Linked DNA regions of Homo sapiens: region 1 is linked to region 2. Evidence: promoter capture Hi-C in 16 types of primary human blood cells and fetal thymus (Javierre and others, 2016). All regions are on one chromosome and are shown on one strand. The core of a region is centred on a gene start or on the middle of the fragment in contact, and the rest is flanking DNA. Distances in the headings are between cores, read along the strand shown.

Region 1 (6,613 bases), core at 3,330-5,829, 4.8 Mb after region 2:
TCATGTTGGCCAGGATGGTCTCGATCTCTTGACCTCGTGATCTGCCCTCCTTGGCCACCCAAAGTGCTGGGATTACAGGCGTGAGCCACCACGCCCAGCCAAACATTCCTATGTGCCTTTCTGTATCTACTTCTGTTGCTGGCTCATAGGTAAGTGCATGCTCAGTAATAATAGACATGCTGAACCATTTCCAAAGCATTTCTACCAATTTAGATTACCAATGGTGCCTTATGTTTTAACAGGAGCCCTCTGGCTGCTTCATTGAAAACTGACTGTTTAAGGGCAAAGGTGGGAGCAGGGAGGCCAAGGGAAAGGTTTCGCAGTCATCCATGTGTGACTGCATGGGGCACAGCCCAAAGGGGTAGCAGTGGAAGTAGTGACAAGTGGTTGGATTCTGGTTGTACTTCAAAGGTAGAGTCAACAGGAATTTTCTGATGGATTGGAAATGGAGGATAGAAAAAGCGAATAGACAAAGGTGTGTGGGAGGCATTTTGACTAATCATCTTTATGGATGGAATTGCCATCAACTGAGATTATAAGACTGCTGATGGCCGGGCGCGGTGGCTCACGCCTGTAGTCCCAGCACTTTGGGAGGCCGAGGCGGGCGGATCACGAGGTCAGGAGATCGAGACCATCCCGGCTAAAACGGTGAAACCCCGTCTCTACTAAAAATACAAAAAATTAGCCGGGCGTAGTGGCGGGCGCCTGTAGTCCCAGCTACTAGGGAGGCTGAGGCAGGAGAATGGTGTGAACCCGGGAGGCGGAGCTTGCAGTGAGCCGAGATCGCGCCACTGCACTCCAGCCTGGGCGACAGAGCGAGACTCCGTCTCAAAAAAAAAAAAAAAAAAAAAAAAAAAAAAAAAAAAAAAAAGACTGCTGAGCAGTTGGTTTGAGAGGGAAGATCCTGAGTTCTGTTTGGCACATCACTTTGGAAATGTCTATTAAATATCCAAATGGATATGTCATGGAGGCAGCTGGAGTTCAGGTTAGAGGTCTGAGTCATTGATAAAACTTTGGGAGTTGTTGGCAAATGATAGTGTATTGGTCAGAGTCTAATTAGGAAAGAGAAGCTACACAGTCATTTGAACAGGAAACATGTATATAAAGAAGTGTTAATTGCAACAGGGAAGTGGAGTAACCAGGCACAGACTAGTAGGAAGTATAGGAGGAGCAACCACTAGCCTAGGGCTGAGGTAGAGAGCCCAGGAGAGTCCTCTCCTCCTAGTGCACTGCCCCTACACCTCATCAGAGGAACCCAGCTATGGCCCTCTGCATGTCAGGAGAGTCACTGGTGCTATACCACTGGAACTTACTAGAAATACTTCTTTAGGTGCTGGGGAAAGGAGCGGTGTCTCAAAAGAGTTACTCTATAACAAAACTGCCTGGAGCTGGTGAGGGGAGTGGGACCTGCTGGGCACTGGCCACTGTGTTTCTGGAGAAGTCACCCACCTGCAGGAGCCAGGCCAGGGAGCATAGGAGAACCAGGAACAAAGACTGCTTTCGCCCACAAAGTCTCTCCATTGCTCTCTACTGACAAAACCTAACATAATGTCAGAGGAAAATATTTAAATGGCCCAGTTCCATTTTTGCAGAGCAGGCAATGAAGAATGAGTTTGTAGCAGAGATGCAATAAATTGATAACTGTATTAGTCCGTTCTCTCACTGCTATGAAGAAGTACCTGAGACTAGGCAATTTATAAGAAAAGAGGTTTAATTGGCTCACGATTCTGCAGGCTGTACAGGAAGCATGACAGCTTCTGCGGAGGCCTCAGGAAACTTTCAATCATGGTGGAAGGTGAAGGAGAAGCAGGCATGTCTTACATGGCTGGAGCAGGAAAAGGTGGTGGGGGGAGGTGCTACACACTTTTTAACAACCAGATCTTGTGAGAACTCTATCATGAGAACAGCACTAGATGAATGGTGCTAAACCTTTCATGAAGACTCTGCTCCCATGATCCAATCACCTCCCACCAGGCCCCACCTCCAACATTGGGGATTACAATTCCACACGAAATTTGGGCAGGGACAGACCCAAAACATATCAATAACTGATACAGATGGCATATAAAACTGAGACAGAATTAGATCATCCAGGGAATAAGTATAGACACAGAAGAAAAGAAAACTGAAGCCCGAAACCTATGGCCTCACTCTAATTTAAACAGGTGAGAGCAGGGGAACCAGCAAAAGCAGCTGAGAAAGAGCATCCAGGGCTGCAGGTGGAGTCCTGTGAGACAAGTGAATCAAAGTGAATAGGAGAGGGGCCAGAGTATGTATTGACTGTTCTTTTGTGAAGTTTTGCTGCAAAGGGGAACATAGAAAAGGTGCAGGTCCTGGTATAGGAAATAGGGTCGAGTAATTTCTTTGTTTTGAAGATGAGAGAAATAGCTGCATGTTATGTGACGATGAGAAGAGTCCAGTAGAAAGGAAAATATTGCTGATGTTGCAGAGAGGATAGGCTGGCTGGAGTGACACCCTGGAGCAGTAAGAGATGATGGGATCCAGCAGTCCAGTGCAGGATTCTTTGGGTGGACCTAGCAGTTGTTCATCCACAGTCACAGGGAGGCAATAAGAGGCGGATGGGTGGAGGTGGACGTGGGAGTCTGTGGAAGACTTTTACCACTTCTATTCTCTTAGCAAAGCAGGAGGCAAGGAAGGGAGAGGCAGTGGGAAGGATTGAACAGAGAGGAGGAAGTGCGAAATACTCACTTGGAACAATGGGAGATTGAATAGACCAGGCAAAGAATGATTAAAGTGAGGACGGCTGGCATGGTCCTGTTTTCCTCCAGCCATGTTTAGTTGCATCGTCGTGGCATGGAATAGATGGAGAGCTGGGTTTATCCAGGGCTCCCATCTTACCAAGCAGATAGGAGATGACAGGGAGGTGCATGAGTTGAGGAGGTGTGCAAGGGATCAATGAGAATGGTTGGCCATTGAGTTTAAGCTGGCTCACTAGAGAGGGTCATAAAGGAAGAAACAGTGAACAAGTAGTAAGATCTTGATTGGAGGTGCTGGTAAGGTTGCAGGAGTTTTGTTTCAGGGCAGTATAGGGAGTGACCTGGACAGATAGGAGGATAGATAGACCTGGTCAGAGTGGGATACTGTGGGGGTTGCAGTCCTTGGACCTGACAAGGTCTAAGGTCTGATCATGGAGGGAGGGGGAAGCTGAGGTAGGGCAGAGGACAGGAGTGGGCTTCATGAGACCAAAAGGATGTTGGAAGGATTATCTACCTGGATACTGAAATCTTCAAGAAGTAAGAGGTGTAGTGTGAAGAAGTTACAACACTCTAAGCTCTTCAGGGATAAGGGAAGCATGTGCCACGTGGGTAGCCTCCCAAGTCCAGCACCCAGTATCTAGAATATGCAGAGTGAATACCTGGGGGCTGCTGAGGGCAAGAACAAGGTGCCTGTGAGAAGACCTGACGCCTGGGGTTCTCGTGACAGGAGTGGGCCTAGTTTTTGGTGTAGAATTGAGCCTTGAATGCACCAGCGGGATCATATTGAAAAGAAACCCTCCAAGACTAAAGGAAGATGCATCCTCTGACAATGTACGCTCTGTAGGCTCCCAAGTAGCTGGGCTGGGGATTAGATGGACTCCAAGGCATTTCCTCAGGTGGCAATGGGCGGATCCCTGGGAAGGTAAAGCTGTGCAGTAAGAAAACGGCAAGATGCTACGTTCACTCAGGTAAAGCCCCTTTCCCGGGTTTAGGGAGGGCGAGGCAGTTTAGGCTGGGTCAGTTTGTCCCTGCCCTCACGGTTTGTTGGTCCTGGCAAAAGAGGGCCTTATGTTATTTATTTTTCTTAGAGACAGTGTCTTGCTCTGTTGCCCAGGCTGAAGTCCAGTGGCTCATCTCAGTTCACTGCAGACTCCGCCTCCTGGGATCAAGCGATCCTCCCACCTCAGCCTCCAGAGTAGCTGGGACCACAAGCACCACAGGCGCCCGGCACGATGCCGGCTAATTTTTTTTTTTTTTTTTTTTAAGAGAGAGAGGTAGGCTCCCTATGTTGCCCAGGCTTGTCTTGAATTCCTGGGCTCAAGCAATCCTCCCTCCTCGGCTTCCCAAAGTGTAGGGATTACAGGCGTGAGCCACTGCGCCCTGCCAAAAGAGGGCTTTAGGGCACCCCAGAACGCGAGATCCCCCTCATCTGTAATCTTTAAAGAGGAGGAAGTGTACTCCAAATCAAGCGATAGTCCATTCGTCCTTGGCACGGTGACTGCCGGGAGGCCAGGACCAAATGTGTCTCCTTCCGGCTTTTGCACCACACTAACTAACCGGCGCCAGGCCGCAGAGCCGCCCTGGCCTTCGGCGAGAACTCAGGCGAGCGCGGCGCACGCTGCTCCGGAGTCCCACCGCGGAAGTTGAGGCCGCGGATTCCGAGGGCGGGGTGGAGAGGAATCTGGAAGGACCTGGACCCGGTGGAACGCACTGCGCGGACGGCGCCTGCGTCCGCACTCAGCTGTTCAGCCCTCTTTCTTCAGGCTCTCCCCTGAAAGCCGTCCCCATGCCGGTCTCTTTTTTCTGCCTTCTTGTTTCCCTCCGGCGAGTCAGCGCGACTGTGAATTTCCGTTTCCGGCGGTGTCCATGCTGACCTGAGGAGTCGCGGCTGCGAGCAGGTTCGGTGCTGCGGGTTGGGGTAGGCGGCGGTGGGGTCCCTGGTTCTGGGGCACTGGGAAGATCGCGAGTCGTGCGTGTGGGAAGGTCCTCCCCCGGTCCTCCGGGTCATCTTTGCTCCCGAGGAGCGGCATATTTCTCATCTGGCGGAGGTGTCCTGGGGTAGTTGGGTGAGTGACGTGATGAATCCCTGCAGAGAGCCCAGACGGGGAGGGAAGGTGGCTGGGCGACGTCGTTTCCTGGCGACGTGGTCCCGGTAGGAGACTTAGACCTGAGCTGGATCTGTTGACCCCAAATTGTGCTTTTCCCACCAAGAAGAAAGACAGGGAGAGAAACATTAGTACAAGTGCTGAACTAAAATATAGCAGAGAAGAAACATAATCTCTGAAATCACACAGCTATTCGGTTTCAAAGCGTTCCTAGCGCCCAGCTCTCCTAACTCCTGGCCAGTGTTCTTGACATTATGGTAATACATAAAGACTTTGTTTCCGCTGGTGTGTGTCTGTGGGAAGCCTCTGACTCACCTCCGTGCTCCAGTAGCACCCTGTGCAGCCTTCCAATGTCGCCCTTATTGCGTGGCGCGGAAGATAATAGTTTGGATTTCCTCTGCAAGTCAGATAATAGCTGTATCCACTTACTGGCACAGTGCCTAGCACATCGTAGACAGACACAAATATTTATTCAACGGAATGAATACAGTACCTTAATTGAATGAAATGGCATCCTGCTCCGCTTTTTTTTTTTAATCAAGCTGTCAGATTTTATGCAGCCCGATTTCCTAAAATAACTCACTAATTCAGTGATTGCCAATTTATTAGCCACAGATTCCCAGGTAACTCAGAAATCACTGGAAGGGTCTCTGTAAGTTCATGGGGTCTCCAGGTGTCATCTAGAACCAGTCCTATCTCACACGTACAGCTATTTCTATTTTTCAAATGTATGTAGATAAGTTGTAATTTAGGAGTTTTACAGAGTCAACAGGTACTAAAAGTAATACTGCGATCATATTGGAGGTTCATAAAAACGTTTCACATTTTTTTATTAAAATTTAAGTTTTAGTTTAAGTTAGGAAACCACTTCATCAGTCCAGTTGATACCTGGGTCTGAGCTGTCCAGTATGGTAGCCACATGTGACTATTTGGAGTTAGAATGAAATTAATTAAAAACTCATTTTTTCAGTTTCCCTAAGTATATTGTAAGTAACCACATGTGGCTAATGGCTAAATGGCTGAAAAGTACAGATATAGTATATTTCTATCCTTGCAGAAATAGATACTGCTGATGTTGACACTTAAGATGAATAAAAAGTAACTTAACCATAAAATGTAATCTTAAGAGAGGTAACTCATCTAATTTATAGCATAACAGAGAGAAATGAAATTGGGGATGGTTAAGCAGTTTCTACCCTTGTTCAGTGAACAAATACATCATCTCTTCATAAAGAAATAAATGAAATTTACTGTTTTTCCCTGGGTATTGCCTGGATTGTAAAATGCTTCTCCCATCTCCTTACCCCAACCTTCTTCCTTGTAGGTTAGAGTTACTTGTTATTGGTAAATAGCCACTATGGAGGCTAAGGACCAGAAGAAACACAGAAAGAAAAACAGTGGACCCAAAGCTGCAAAGAAAAAGAAGCGGCTTCTGCAGGATCTCCAGCTAGGAGACGAAGAAGATGCCCGGAAGAGAAATCCCAAAGCTTTTGCAGTTCAGTCTGCTGTGCGGATGGCTCGATCCTTTCACAGGTATGTTAGGCTACGGTCTGGTCATTCTTCCATTGATTCTTTTTTTAAATAGTAGGAGCCTCTCACAGGTGACATTTGGATTCACGAGTCTAGTCCAGCTCCAAAGGACATGGAGATTCATGGTGTGTGGCTTTCACTAAAACGTGAGAAGCTTTTCCCATAGAAGCTGCCTTGCCTCCAGCATCTGCATACTGGTTAGTGTTTATTGCCCAGGATACAAGAATTTATAGACTTTGTTTGTTCCTAAATTTTAAACTG
Region 2 (6,056 bases), core at 1,871-4,370:
GAGAATCGCTTGACCCTGGGAGACAGAGGTTGCAGTGAGCCAAGATTGCACCAAACTGAGCCCTTGTCTCAAAAAAAAAAAAAAAAGAGTATAAAACACTGATGAATGATATTAAAATGGAAAGATATCCCATGCTCATGGACTGGCAGAATTAATATTGTTAAAATGTCCATAGTACTAAAAGCAGTCTACAGATTAAATGCAATCCATATCCAAATACCAATGACATTCTTCACAGAAATAGGAAAAAAAATCCTAAAATTTATATGGAACCACCAAAGACCCCGAGTAGCCAAAGCAATTTTGTGCAAAAAGAACAAAGGTGGAGGCATTGTACTACCAGACTTCAAAATATACTATAAAGCTATAGTAAACAAAACAGTAGGTTACTGGCATAAAAAGAGACACATAGATCAATGAAAAAGAGAATTGAGAAATAAATACATGCATTTATAGCCAATTTCATTTTTGACAAAGGCACTAAGAACATACATTGGAGAAATGACAGTTTCTTCAATAAATGGTGCTGAGAAAACTGGATATCCATACGCAGAAGAATGAAACTAAACCCCTGTCTCTCATCATATGCAAAAATCAAATGATAGTGGATTAAAGAGTTAAATGTATGACCTGAAACTATGAAACTACTTGAAGAAAACATTTGGAAATGCTTCAGAACATTGTTCTCGGCAAAAATTTTTTGGTAAGACCTCAAAAGCACAAGCAACAAAGGCAAAAATAGATGAATGGGATTACATCAAACGAAAAAGTTTCAGCACAGCAAAGTAAGCAATAACAGTGAAAAGACACCCAAAGAATAGGAGAAAATATTTGCAAACTACCCATCTGACAAGGAATTAATAACCAGAATATACAAGGAACTCAACAGTCAGAAAACAAAAAATTTGATTTAAAAAAATTGAGCAAATGATCTGAACAGACATTCCACAATAGAAGACATACAAATGGCCAATAGGTATACGATAAAATCTTCAACATCATTAATCATCAGACAAATGCAAATCAAAACCATAATGGGATATCATTTTACCCCTTAAAACAGCTATTATAAAAAAGGCAAAAAAATAACAAATGCTGGGATATAGAGAAAGGAGAACCCTCATACAACCTTGGTGGCAATGTAAACTAGTACAGCCACTGTGGAAAACAGTATGGAGGTTCCTCAAAAAATTGAAAACAGAATTACCATATGATCTAGCAATCTCACTGCTATATATATATCCAAAAGAAGGGAAATCCGTATATTGAAGATATCTCTGCACTCCCATTTTTATCGCAGCACTATTCACAATAGTCTAGATACAGAATCCACCTAAGTACCCATCAATGCATGAATAGATAATGAAAATTGTGGTATATATACACAATGGAATATTATTCAGACATAAAAAGAAGGAAATTTTGTCATTGCAGCAACAAAGATGGAACTGGAGGGCATTATGTTACATGAAATAAGCCAGGCACAGAAAGACAAATATCATGTTCTCACTCATACGCAGGAGCTAAGATAGTTGATCTCATGAAGATACGATGTAGAATGATGGTTACCAGAGGCTGCGAAGGGAAGTAGGGAGTGAGGAATGAAGAGAGGTTGGTTAATGGGTACAAAAATACAGTTAGGTAGAAGGATTAAGTCCTAGTGTTCAATAGCACAGTATGGTTACAAGTGTTAGCAATAATTTATTAGCTATCAGAATAGCTAGAAGATTTCGAATATTTGCAACACAAAGAAATGATAAATGAGGCGGTGGATATTGTAATTACCCCGATTTGATCATGACACATTGTATGCATATATCAAAATATCACATGTACCCCACAAATATGTACATTATGTACCAAAAAAAAAAACTAAAATAAGCAGCAAAAACCACTTCCAGCTAGCATGGTGCTTACGAAATGCCTAAGCTCAGTTATCAGCCAATGAGAGGCATTATAAGATCACCACCATAAAATGGAGGAACTGATGAACTGCAGTTTTCATCTTTAAAAAAATTTTTTGTCCCATTTCCTGTCTTTAGAAACTAGCCTCTGGGCTGGATGGGATTCCCAGCTTCTCCTGTAAAATGCAAAATTGAGGGCTCAAATTGTGGTTTCAATTTACACGTTTCACAGTCCTCTGAGAAGAGACTAAGGTTGGAGGATGCAGGAAGGCCTTAAATAATTCACCTTTTGACTCAAGTGCTCTGAAGATTCCCCAAGCATTTTTGGAAACAGAACACTACCTGGTTGAGACTGGGTTCAAGTACACCACACAGCTACGTTCTGGTGGTGCTCAAGGGGCAAATGCTGTGCTAAATACAAGTCAAGACTGGATTTTAGTGTGGCAAGGCGCATTAACTCAGAGGAAAAAGTGAGGATTTACATCCCACCTGCTAATACTGTGGGTAAACGGATTTCTCTCTCTGAATCTTTAATAGTCACATTTATTTTAATAGAGATGGTTAAGTCGAAAGGATGGTTACGATGATTAAATGAGCCAATAATGAAAACAGCATGTTTTGTAATAATAGAAGCAGCTCACCTTTATTGAGTCCTGTATCATACTTTACATCTATTACCCTATTCAGTACCCAAAGGCCCCCATCATTTGCCAGATGCGCGTCGAGCCGCACTGGGACCACCTACAGACGCTGGACCAGAGCCCACGTCCCTGCGGCTTTGGAGCGCCGCGTCTGCAGCGGCCAGCGCGCCTCACATGGCGGCTCCGGTCACGTCACACAATGCGGCTGCTCCGGGCGCCCACTGCCCAGCACCGCAGGCCTCCTCTGGCCGCCCCTCAAGCAGGTCGCGCAAACGCCATTCCGGGCAGGGGCGCCAGCGCAGCCAGCCAACCTCCCCACCAGGCGGCTCCCACCCAGGGCCCTCCGCGGAGGCCGCTCCGGGGCCAGGAGGCGGCTTCCAGGCTCGAGACCCCGCCTCCCAGGCCCTGCCCGCCCGCAAAAGCCTTCGACACACCTGCAGGGTCTCGGCCTCTGCTCCCGGCCCGCGCCGGGCCCAGGCCCCGCCCTTTGCGGCCCAGCCCAGACCCGGAGGCACCGGAGTCCTCTCCCCACCCTAGGGCGTAAGACCAAAAAAACGCCAATGCCAGAAAGAAGACACTGCACATGCGCAGAACGTTTCCCTAGCCCTACTCCAGAACTACGCTTCCCAGAAGGCCCGGCTGCGACTCCATCTTGGATGACGTCGTGAGGCGCGGCCGCCTCCAGCGGCCTGAGTGATTGCTGTCGGGTTTCCGGGAGAGGGCGCTGTCCTTGCTCAGTGATGGCCGGAGAGCTGCACCCTGCACGTCTGGGCTTGAAGACAGAAATCCACCGTGAGGTGCTCCAAGGAACACTGATGGGCAGTTTTGTTAAAGTGATTGAACTCCGTGGGTACAGGAGTACGTGGAGTAATGAAGGATAATGCCCTGTAACCGCTTCCTCTTAGGAATGCTAGCTTTCACAATTGTGCAAACGGTACGCGAAACGTAATAAACTACAAAATATGTATAAGCTAAAACAGAAAACGAGTATACCACTTCCCAAAAGCAAAAGCGCTTAATGTTAGGTGAACATCCTTCTCATGAATTTACACAAATTTTAACCTAATGGTATAGAGTATCATGACTATCATTTCACTAAGGAATATATATAGTCATCCCTCCTTATCCTGGGGGTGCATATCTATGGATTCAACTAAGCTCAGAATGAAAATACTTAAAAATTCTATCTTACTGAACATGTACAAAGTTTCCCCCTTGTCATTATACCCTAAACAATACAATAAAACTATTTACATAGTATTTACATTGTGTTAGGTGTACAATTAATCTAGACATAATTTAAAATATACAGGAGGAGGTGTGTAGGTTATGCAAATATCAGGTTATTTTCTACCAGAGACTTGAACATCCCTGGATTTGAGTAATCCAGGGAGGTCCTGGTACTAATCCCCCGCGGATACAGAGAGAGGACTTGGCTGTATATGTAAAACAAATTATATATTTCCTGGTCAATAACTTTATTACATTAAAACATGTAGAATCATCTAGAAAAAAACGTATATATTGTCATGTGTATAAACACACATATATATACATATAAAAATATGCGCACATAATACACACACACACACCACCTTTCTGGATGGGAAGTATTGAGGAAATAATTTAAAATAAAGCCTCTTGCCAACCCAGAAAATTCTCTCCACAGATGGAGAAAAGAACAAAACAGTTACATTATTGAATAAACATTAAACCAGACTGCGATGTGCGTCACAGGCAACCCACTAATGAGTTTATGAAGACAGGAAGAACTATCATTTTTTGTATTAGCCGGTCTGGTACAACGCATTCTATTTCCTCAAGGTAAAAATAACTTGTCCTCAAGTAAGATGACTGTACAGCAACATTTGCTATGCATAATTCATCTGAAATTCACCTGATAATTAGGGTAGCCATCAGTGTTAGTTAATTGCCATTATGCAAATGAAAAGTAAAGTTTCTGGTATCTCTATGACACGCAGGTAGTTAACCGCGGGTAGCCAGGAGCCTAGGAGTTTACCACAGAGGCAGGGAGATGGGGTGCAATCTTCCTTGATGCTTACATTTCAAAGACATGACCCAAGGCCATTAAGAAAGACCTTCCTGGGTTGTTAAACTAGCAAGAAGCTTATTTACTTTTTAAAAAGTTTTGCTATATCTCACAGGGACAGAGAAGGGATTTACAATTACAAGTTTTCTTAAGGAAATGCTGTAAGAAAAGAGAGGAGTAAAGGTCTTTTTCCCTTTTTGCAAGAAGGAAAATTCAGTTGTTTTATTTTTTTCTTTGAGACAGAGTCTGGCTTTGTCACCCAGACTGGGATGCAGTGGCATGATCCCGGCTCACTGCAACCTCTGCCTCCCAGGTTCAAGGAATTCTCTGCTTCAGCCTCCTGAGTAGCTGGGATTACAGTCGCCCACCACCACGCCTGGCTAATTTTTTTTGTATTTTTAGTAGAGACGGGATTTCACCATCTTGGCCAAGGTGGTCTTGAGCTCCTGACTTCGTGATCCACCTGCCTCAGCCTCCCAAAGTGCTGGGATTACAGGCGTGAGCCACTGCGCCCAGCCCAAATTTTTATATTTATATTTACCCTTAGAGAAACTATAAAATTTAACACAATTTCAATCAAAATTTAAATTAAAAAATCTTAACGGGGAGCTTAGTTTTGTTTTACTTGATAAAATAATTTTTAACTTCCTCAGGAAACAACCTCAGGGAATAGCAAGGAACTGAAGACTAAACTCTGATTTTTTTTATCTTATCCAAATTTCTATCTAAGGGGTCTGAGGAGTTATGCCCTACAAACCATAAATTCATATCAGATGGGTTTTATTTAACCCCATAAAATGTGACTTACTTTCCAACCAGACTCTGGCATAACATTATGAGACAAGGAAGAAAATAAAAACATTTTACCCCAAAAACATGTTTGTCACATTTTGAAATGGCCCTGCAAGCCGTCCTTTGTGGGAAAATTTGCATCTCTAAATAATCTCTATTAACTAACATAGCTAGGCCTTTTCCTTCCAGGCCCTTCTAATTCTGAATAGATTGACTGAGAGTCTAGCACCTTTTAAAGGGTCTGAATAGGAAACATCTGTCATCTCTTGTTTTCAAGGATAGCCACTATGAGACTTCAAAAGAACTTTGGTCTCCACAACCTTTTATCTTAACCTGAACATTTCCTTTCTATTGATCCCAGCTCCTTAGACAAAAATTCAACCAATTGTCAACTAGAAAATGGTTAAATTTACCTGTAGCCTGGAAGCACCCCCACCCTTCAAGTTGTCCTGCCTTCCTGGAACAAACCAATGTATTCCTTAAATGTATTTGATTGATGTCTCATGCCCTCCTACAATGTATAAAATCAACCTGCACCCCCAACCACCTTGGGCGCATGTTCTCATGACATCCAGAGGGCTGTGTCAAGGTCCATGATCACTCACATTTGGCTCAGAATAAATCTCTTTAAATATTTTACAGAGTTGACTTTTTTCATTGACAGAACTT

Evidence for each region. Contacts are between HindIII fragments. The CHiCAGO score rates a contact against its expected background, and 5 or more counts as called.
Region 1: a contact is called between the fragment with the promoter of BMS1 here and the fragment with the promoter of ZNF25 in region 2, in 1 of 17 cell types (non-activated CD4 T cells). The highest score is 6.4, in non-activated CD4 T cells.

The regions. Positions count from the first base shown.
Region 1 is chr10:42,778,216-42,784,828 of GRCh38, forward strand. BMS1 (BMS1 ribosome biogenesis factor) reads left to right here and starts at 4,580. Exons shown (of 23, transcript NM_014753.4): 1 at 4,580-4,615; 2 at 6,147-6,355. The coding sequence starts at 6,180. RefSeq lists an enhancer at 4,411-4,760. The HindIII fragment of the contact is 6,696 bases long and covers 1-6,307 here.
Region 2 is chr10:37,973,527-37,979,582 of GRCh38, forward strand. ZNF25 (zinc finger protein 25) reads right to left here and starts at 3,121. Exons shown (of 6, transcript NM_145011.4): 1 at 2,980-3,121. ZNF25-DT (ZNF25 divergent transcript) reads left to right here and starts at 3,229. Exons shown (of 6, transcript XR_930830.4): 1 at 3,229-3,479. RefSeq lists enhancers at 2,005-2,094, 3,135-3,364 and a silencer at 2,685-3,094. The HindIII fragment of the contact is 11,670 bases long and covers 1-4,670 here.